Linked DNA regions of Homo sapiens: region 1 is linked to region 2. Evidence: promoter capture Hi-C in 16 types of primary human blood cells and fetal thymus (Javierre and others, 2016). All regions are on one chromosome and are shown on one strand. The core of a region is centred on a gene start or on the middle of the fragment in contact, and the rest is flanking DNA. Distances in the headings are between cores, read along the strand shown. Region 1 overlaps OGFOD3 (2-oxoglutarate and iron dependent oxygenase domain containing 3). Region 2 holds the start of DCXR (dicarbonyl and L-xylulose reductase).

Region 1 (6,197 bases), core at 3,265-5,764, 370 kb before region 2:
CTGCCCTGACCACCCTGCCCCAAACACCCTAACCCTGTCTGACCACCCTGCCCCTGCCCCAAACACCCTGCCCCTGCCCTGTCCACCTTTCCTCTGCCCAATGACCCTGACTCCTGTCCACTCTGATCCTGTCCCAACGACACTGCCGCTGCCCCAAACGACCTTGCCCCTGCCCCGATAACCATGCCCCTGCCCCGATAACCATGCCCCTGCCCCGATAACCATGCCCCTGCCCCGATAACCATGCCCCTGCCCCGATAACCATGCCCCTGCCCCGATAACCATGCCCCTGCCCCGATAACCATGCCCCTGCCCCGACCGTGTTGCTCCTGTCCCAACGACCCTGCCCCTGCCCCGACCACCCTGACCCCCATTTGAGCTGCTGCTTCCTCTTCCCTCTCAGCCTCCGCAGGTCACCAAGGTACGGGGAGAGACAGGGGCATGTGCGGAGCAGTTCGCTGTGCCCTGGGGAAGGACTGGGACTAGACCCACAAGCTCCACTCTGGTGGTCTCAGGAGGGTTTTCTGCTCCAGTGGTCTCAGGAGGGTTTTCCTCTCTGGCGGTCTCAGGAGGGTTTTCTGCGCCAGTGGTCCCAGGAGGGTCTTCCTCTCTGGTGGTCTCAGGAGGGTTTTCTGCTCTGGTGGTCTCAGGAGGGTTCCCCCCTCTGGTGGCCTCAGGAGGGTTTTCCTCCCTGGTGGTCTCAGGAGGGTTTTCCTCTCTGGCGGTCTCAGGAGGGTTTTCTGCTCTGGTGGTCTCAGAAGGGTTTTCTGACGGTGCCTGTGGGTGTCTGGACCTGCAGTCAGTGATGGTTCAGGAATGCTGTTGACGCCGTGTCTGGGGTTTCTGTGACTTTCCCAGGGTTTGGGGCAGCAACAGGTGCCTCTGGATTAAATTTCCAGTTGGAGCCACTGGAAGCCAAGGTGGCCCAGTGAGACGTGAACTCCAGATGCACCGCACAAAGCGCATGCACGCTGGAGAGCTGTGGTTGTGTGTGTCTGAAATTCACATTTGACCGGGCGTATTAGCCAGTTCTGGCCCTGATTCCCTGGAAGGGCATGCGCCGGTGGCCTTGGAAACTGCGTCTCACCCTGGCTGTCCCTTCACAGGCTGCACTCCCCGAAAGTGCGGCAGAGGTGTCACCGATGTCGTCATCACCAGGGAGGAAGCGGAGCGGATTCGCAGGTAACCGCCTGTCCCTGAGCACGGTGGGATTCAAACAAACACACGCGGAGTGGGGCTAGGGCGGGAAGCAGAGCATTGTTAGTAATAAAGTGGTTTTAAGGATTTTATTGCCAGGCGTGGTGGCTCACGCCTGTAATCCCAGCACTTGGGGAGGCTGAGGCGGGCAGATTGCCTGAGTTCAGGAGTTCGAGACCAGCCTGGGCAACATGGTGAAACCCTGTCTCTACTAAAATACAATAAATTAGCTGGGTGTGGTGGCATGTGCCTGTAGTCCCAGCTACTCAGGAGGCTGAGGCAGGAGAATCGCTGGAACCCGGGAGGCAGAGGTTGCAGTGAGCCAAGACTGCACCACTGCACTCCATCCTGGGCGACAGAGCGAGATTCTATCTCCAAAAAAAAAAAAAAGATTTTATTATAATTTTATAAGAATTTCCAGGCTGGGTGCGGTGGCTCATGCCTGTAATCCTAGCACTTGGGGAGGCCAAGGCGGGTGGATTGCCTGAGCTCAGGAGATCGACACCAGCCTGGGCAACATGGTGAAACCCCTGTCTCTACTAAAATATGAAAAATTAGCCGAGTGTGATGGCACACTCCTGTAATCCCAGCTACTCAGGAGGCTGAGACAGGAGAATTGCTTGAACCTGGGAGGCAGGGATTGCAGTGAGCCGAGATTGAGCCATTGCATTCCAGCCTGGGTGACAGAGTGAGACTCCATCTCAAAAAAAAAAAAAAAAAAAAAAAAAAGAATTATGTGCTTTCAAGGGCCAAGCTCAGATTTTCCGATTTCAGGAGAGGAGACCATGGCCCTCAGCGAAGCAGTAGCTGGGAGAGTACCCAGAGGCCCAGGTTCCTCTGCAGGGGTTGTGGCCGCCTCTGGGGGCTGCTGCTGAGTGCCCCATGCTCCCCACGGAGCCTCCGGGACACTGCTCAATGACCGCTCAGTGTCTGCTCTGAAACTGCCTCCAGGGAGCCCGTCAGCCCACCTGGCTATGACTTGTGGCAGCACAGGATGCCACTCAGAGGCTACTGGTGCTGGACTTTTCTTACTGAGATCTTAAAAGAAAGTTTTGATTTTCCAACCACTTGTTGAGACGATAAGCATGTGGAATGGTGTGCAGCCCTGGGCCACGTGCCCTGCCCTGAGATTCTCCCCAGGGAGCCTGCCCCCGAGGATGCTGCCTAGCTCCACGCAGGGTTACTGCTGCCTAGCTCCAGTGGGGTTACTGCTGTCTGACTGAGGCACCGGCGTGTCCCCACTTGGTGTCCACAGGCAGCTCCCAGCACCTGTGGCAGCTCAGGGTGGTCCTCTGTGGTCCAGCACAGCTGGCGTGTGGGTGTCTTTCTCCCACCATGGTCAGGGCCCCTATCTCCTGAGCTGGTGAATCTCAAAGCTTCCCCCACCTGCCTGGGGTTCCAGGAGAGATGGGGAGCAGTGGGCCCTCCCCTAGATGCTCCCCAGGCTCCTGAGCTTGGCCCAGGTGGCTTTCGATATTGAAGATGAGAGATTAAGCCCAGCCCTCCCTTTCTCTCTCTCTCTCTCTCTCTCTTTTTCTTTCTTTCTTGACAGAGTCTTGCTTTGTTGTCCAGGCTGGAGTGCAGTGGCGCGATCTCGGCTCACTGCAACCTCTGCCTTCTGGGTTCAAGCGATTCTCCTGGCTCAGCCTCCAGAGTAGCTGGGATTACAGGCACCTGCCATCACAGCTGGCTAATTTTTGTATTTTTAGTTGAGACGAGGTTTCACCATGTTGGCCAGGCTGGTCTGGAACTCCTGACCTCGTGATCCACCCGCCTTGGCCTCCCAAGGTGCTGAAGCCCAGTCGTTTCTAAGCTGAGTCAAATATTGACAAGACAACGATGGCAGTATTGTCGCTTACGCACTGAACTTTGAAAGTTGAGTCCTTTGGTCTAAACATTTGTTTACATCATAAACATTAAACACGCAGGACCCACTAATGTTGCATTAATTTTGCTGATTGACGTTTGCCTAGATTATACATTATAGACAATTCTAGCAACGAAATTCTGAATTATTTTCTCCCTGCAGCGTAGCTGAAAAGGGGCTCTCCCTGGGAGGATCTGACGGAGGGGTGAGTTGAATGTAGTCCCTGCCCCCCTTTTTTTACCCGTTAACTTTGCTCTCACTTGGATGGGAAGGGGAAGGCACAGACATGCAGGGTTCCCTGCGTGCCCCCAAATGTGGGTGGGGCCTGCCGTGGTGTTTCTCAGCACCAGCCGCAGCAGCTGCGCCTGACTGAAACCCGTGCGGCGTCCCCTCGTTGGGAAGAGTGTGTCCTTAGATGTGCGTGGCCATCTATTCATGGCATGTCACGGCCTGCCTGGCTCCAGTTCACACTGGGGGATAGAGGGGGTCGGAAGCAGGGAGCCGGCAAGGGAGCGGGGTGGGAGCCCAGCGAGGAGACGGCTGCGCATGCTGGACACAGGAGAGCCCGTGGAGCTGCCGGGAAACAGCAGGGCCTCCGTGGGACAGACACGCTGCAACGCATCCTGCAACTTCCTAGCTGGACGCCTCCATGGACGCCCTGTGGGGCTGTCGTCCCATGTGAGGCTGCAGGGGGTCAGCTAGTGGCCTCGGATAATGTGTTCACCTGGAGCCCGTGGACATGATCTGATTTGGAAAAGGGACCTTTGCAGATGTAATTAACTTAAGGATCTCAAGATGACATCATCCCAGATTTAGGGTCCTAAATCCAATGGCAAGTGCCTATAGGAGACAGAGGCAGGGGGAGATTTGAGAGGGAGGAGGAAAAGGTCCTGTGATGATGGAGGCAGAGATGGGAGCAGTGCGGCCATGGAAGAGGCGGGCAGGACCTCCCCTGGAGCCCTGGGAGGGAGCAGGGCCCCTCCCACACCTCGATTTTAGACTCCTGGGCTCTAGAACTGTGAGAGAATAAACTTGTGTTGTTTTAAAGCCCCAGTTTGTGTTACCACAGCCGCAGGGATCATGGAGCCACCGCCGGCTGTGGCCTCGCCCTCCTGTTGGGCAGTGGCTGGGAGTCAGTCTGGTGCAGCTGGTGTTAGCTCCAATTCCCATGCGGTTTCCTCAGGGTTGTTTTCTTGCTCGGTGTGTGGAATTGTCTGAAGATCTGTTTCTCTCTGTTTATTTGGTGATCGCTTTGAATTATAATCACTGAATAGACTTGAGTCTTTCTGCATATTTGAAACTTCTAGAAAATTAATTTATAGACTCTTTGAGAATTTCAAAGTATTTCTGTGATGGTCTGTGTGACTTTTTTCTGCAAACTCTTTTCTCTTGAGTTCTGAAAATTAAGTTCCTTTTTTTCTTCTTTTTTTGAGACAGAGTCTCGCTCTGTTGCCCAGGCTGGAGTGCAATGGGGCGATCTCCACTCACTGCAACCTCCAACTCCTGGGTTCAAGCCATTCTTCTGCCTTAGCCTCCTGAGTAGCTGGGACTACAGGCATGTGCCATGATGCCCGGCTAATTTTTGCATTTTAAATAGAGATGAGGTTTCACCATGTTGGCCAGGCTGGTCTTGAACTCCAGAGCTCAGGTGACCCACCTGCCTTGACCCCCCAAAGTGCTGGGATTACAGGTGTGAACCACCGTGCCCGGCCTAAGTTCCTCCCTTTATTTCAGTTTGGTTTGGTTCAGTTCGGGGGCTATTTGTTAAAGATCTGTGAGTGAGTAGGTTTCTGTTTCACAGCTCCTCCACGTTCACATGGGAAGTTGTCCTGCATGGAGCTGGCTGGGCCGCTGCTTTGGGTTCAGTTACTGTTCAGCGGGCCCAAGCTAGGTTAGTGCCGCAGGGCCAGTGGCTGTGGCGATGAGGAAGGGGCAGCAGTGGGGCTCCTCTGGGGTCACAGGTGGGATGACTAACGTGGGCTGGAAGCCTCTTCCTCTGAGGACGTAGGGAAGGACTGAGAGGTGGGTGGTCGGGCAGGAAACACTTCAGCAGTGGCTTACAAAGTGATGACTCAGGCTTGGCGTGGCGCGCACTGTGGTGCCAGCCGCCCAGGAGGCCAAGGTGGGAGCACCGCTGTGAGGCATTTACTCGAGAGAAGTCAACACTTGCCCACAGGGACACATGACTGTGACTGGCACGGAGCTGCACGGAGATGGCTCCAGACTAAAAATAGCCCACACGTGCCACCATTCTTTAGGTCACAGGGAACAAAAGTGTTTGGTCCAGGAAGATTTTTTTTTTTTTTTGAGATGGAGTTTCGCTCTTGTAGCCCAGGCTGGAGTGCAATGGCACGATCTCGGCTCGCTGCAACCTCCGCCTCCCTGATTCAAGTGATTCTCCTGCCTCAGCCTCCCAAGTAGCTGGGATTACAGCTCCTTGGGAGGCTATCTCTGTAGGTGTCCCAGCTACAGCTGGGATTACAGCTCGCCACCATGCCCAGCTAATTTTGTATTTTTAGTAGACATGGGGTTTCACCATGTTAGCCAGGCTGGTTTTGAACTCCTGGCCTCAAGCAATCCACCTGTCTCAGCCTCCCAAAGTGCTGGGATTGCAGGTGTGAGCCACCACGTCTGGCCGGTCTGGGAGGATTTTAAGAAAGTCCTGGGTTGAGGCTGGGTGCAGTGGCTAATGCCTGTAATCCCAGTACTTTGGGAGGCTGAGGTGGGAGGATCACTTGAGCCCCGGAGTTCGAGACCAGCCTAGGTAATATAGTGAGACCACATCTCTACAAAAAATAGAAAAATTAGCCAGGTGTGGTGGCGAGCGCCTTTACTTGGGAGGCAGAGGGTGGGAGGATTGTTTGGCCTGGAGCCTGGAATATTGAGGCTGCAATGAGCTGAGATTGTGCCACTGCGCCCTAGCCTGGGCAACAGAATAAGATCCTTTTTACAAAAAACAAAAACAAAAACAAAAAAACACCTGAGGTGTGTGCTGGCCAGACCTTGGAAACTCGCATTTACCATCCATGACTTTTAACAGCCATTGCCATTGCTGCGGCTGCACGCTTTACTCCACAACGTCTTTTCCAGGCATCCATTCTGGACTTGCACTCAGGGGCCCTGTCTGTCGGGA
Region 2 (2,601 bases), core at 1-2,500:
CAGCCTCCCACAAGAAGCTGGTGGAGCAGAGTGTTCCCTGACGCCTCCAAGGAAAGGAGACTCCCCTTCGCAGTCTTCTAAGTAACGGGTGGCTTCCCAGACAACGGCATTACTGCTTGACCAAGGAGCCCTCAAGCAGCCCTTATGCGGGAGTGACAGAGGGCTCACCTCTTGCCTTCTAGGTCACTTCTCACAATGTCCCTAGGTTATATTAGTAATGCAACAAAGAGTAATATTAAAAGCTAATGATTAATAATGTTTATACTAATGATTGATAATTATCCATGATCATGATCATTTTTATATCTAATTTGTATTATGACTATTTTTATTTTAACTGTTTTTTTTTTAAAGATGGAGTCTTGCTCTGTCGCCCAGGCTGGAGTGCAGTGGCGCAATCTCGGCTCACTGCAAGCTCCGCCTCCTGGGTTCGCGCCATTCTCCTGCCTCAGCCTCCTGAGTAGCTGGGACTACAGGTGCCCGCCACCGCGCCCGGCTAATTTTTTGTATTTTTAGTAGAGATGGGGTTTCACCGTGTTAGCCAGGATGGTCTCGATCTCCTGACCTCGTGATCCACCCGCCTCGGCCTCCCAAAGTGCTGGGATTACAGGCGTGAGCCACCGCTCCCGGCCTATTTTCTTTGTTATACTGAAACAGTTTGTGTCTTCAGTCTCTTGCCTTGGCATCTAGGTAATCCTTCGCCCACAGATGAAAGCGGAGCTCTGCTGACATTGGTGTCTTCTCCAGACGTAGTTGGTTGTCCAAATTCTTTCCCTTGGCTTTAAAGTGAGCCGGCGGTGTCCTGCTCCCAAGCCTGAGAGATGATGGGCACAGGCGACACTTTTTAGGACATGCCGATGTTTTCAGAAACAAAACAAGAAATGTTAGCCCTGAAATTCTCCATTTCACGTGTTCTTCCTGATATTAACCACACATTCTTTCCGATATTAACCACCACATCGTCTTTTTGCAATAATCTTGGCAGGGAAAAATATGCTAGCCAGGGTCCACTACGTCGATTTCAAGCACGGAAGATGGGTCACACCAGGCACTTCAAAAGACCCGTCCCTGAGGCAGCGGAGACCCCGCCCCGCCCCGGCGCGCCCACTCCTTTCGGCCAATCACTGCAGCGGGGAGCAGCTATTTGAATGTCCCCACCGCCTATCTGAAGGCCGCCCTGCCATTGGCCCCGCCGCGCCCCGCCCATCGTGGCCAGAGCTTCAAGTTCCGCAGCCCCAGTGCGGAGGGCGGAGACTGCGCCGACATGGAGCTGTTCCTCGCGGGCCGCCGGGTGCTGGTCACCGGGGCAGGCAAAGGTGGGCGGCGGGGAAAGGTGGGCAAAGGCCGGCGGCGGGCAGAGGCGGGCAGGGGACGCCTTCACTGAGCCCGCTCCCGGCAGGTATAGGGCGCGGCACGGTCCAGGCGCTGCACGCGACGGGCGCGCGGGTGGTGGCTGTGAGCCGGACTCAGGCGGATCTTGACAGCCTTGTCCGCGAGGTAGGTCCCGCCGGGTCCCAGCGCTGCGAGGCGGCGAGCCAGGAGGGGGCGGCAGCGAGCGGGGGCGGTACCTCTGTGCGCGACTCCGCCTCCCCTCGCGGGCGCTGCGCTTCTCACCGCGGCCTGGGCGCCCGCGCACCCTCTCTCGGGGCTGGTGGCCTGCGTGGGCGGCCGGGTGGTCGGCAGAGCCGCCGGGGCCCCCGGGCTCAGAAAGAGGCCGAAATGGCTGCGAAGCAGGCCCCGGGCAGGAGTCGCTCGGGCGCAGGGAGGAAGTGAACCGGCCGGAGGTAGCGCCCGGCTGCTGGCCCCACAGTCCCGACACCTTCGGAACTCCTAACTCCTTTACTTGTCCGGCTGAAAGGTCACCAGCCCCAGTCCCCAGCTGTGCCGCTTGCTGGGCACAGAGCCTCTGGTAACTGCCCCCTGATACACACAGTGCCCGGGGATAGAACCCGTGTGCGTGGACCTGGGTGACTGGGAGGCCACCGAGCGGGCGCTGGGCAGCGTGGGCCCCGTGGACCTGCTGGTGAACAACGCCGCTGTCGCCCTGCTGCAGCCCTTCCTGGAGGTCACCAAGGAGGCCTTTGACAGGTGAGCCTGTGAGGGCGGAGGAACCTCAGGGAGGGGCTGTCCTGGAGGACGCAGCAGCCCTAATCTCTGACCAGGGTCTGTCCCTCGGCCTCTAGATCCTTTGAGGTGAACCTGCGTGCGGTCATCCAGGTGTCGCAGGTGAGCTGCCCTGTGGGCTGGACGGGAATTCTCGTGAGTGATGCCAGCTCTGCCTCACGGTCTCGCTGCGATTCCAGATTGTGGCCAGGGGCTTAATAGCCCGGGGAGTCCCAGGGGCCATCGTGAATGTCTCCAGCCAGTGCTCCCAGCGGGCAGTAACTAACCATAGCGTCTACTGTGAGTGCCCCAGCTGTGCCCTCAGCCCCACCCCAGCCCCAGCCTCGCCCTCATCACCGACCCCAGCCCCAGCCAGCTTGGGTTCCTCTTCGTAGGCTCCACCAAGGGTGCCCTGGACATGCTGACCAAGGTGATGGCCCTAGAGCTCGGGCCCCACAAGGTGAGCAGGGCTGGGGTACCTCCCCCAACCTAGGACAC

What was found. The method cuts DNA at HindIII sites, captures the fragments that hold promoters and counts their contacts. A CHiCAGO score of 5 or more calls a contact.
Region 1: a fragment that was not itself captured here is called in contact with the fragment with the promoter of DCXR in region 2 in 2 of 17 cell types (non-activated CD4 T cells and total CD8 T cells); the score reaches 7.3 in non-activated CD4 T cells.

The regions. Positions count from the first base shown.
Region 1 is chr17:82,406,440-82,412,636 of GRCh38, reverse strand. OGFOD3 (2-oxoglutarate and iron dependent oxygenase domain containing 3) reads left to right here. Exons shown (of 9, transcript NM_024648.3): 3 at 1,107-1,182; 4 at 3,227-3,269; 5 at 6,155-6,197. Among named protein-coding and RNA genes, the nearest start is that of HEXD, 8.8 kb to the left of the region's middle. The HindIII fragment of the contact is 3,878 bases long and covers 2,576-6,197 here.
Region 2 is chr17:82,036,346-82,038,946 of GRCh38, reverse strand. DCXR (dicarbonyl and L-xylulose reductase) reads left to right here and starts at 1,250. Exons shown (of 8, transcript NM_016286.4): 1 at 1,250-1,316; 2 at 1,400-1,497; 3 at 1,934-2,088; 4 at 2,184-2,226; 5 at 2,304-2,403; 6 at 2,499-2,563. The coding sequence starts at 1,265. It overlaps DCXR-DT (DCXR divergent transcript), which reads right to left and starts at 1,029. Exons shown (of 2, transcript NR_159948.1): 1 at 679-1,029. RefSeq lists a silencer at 1,030-1,859. The HindIII fragment of the contact is 4,930 bases long and covers 1-2,601 here.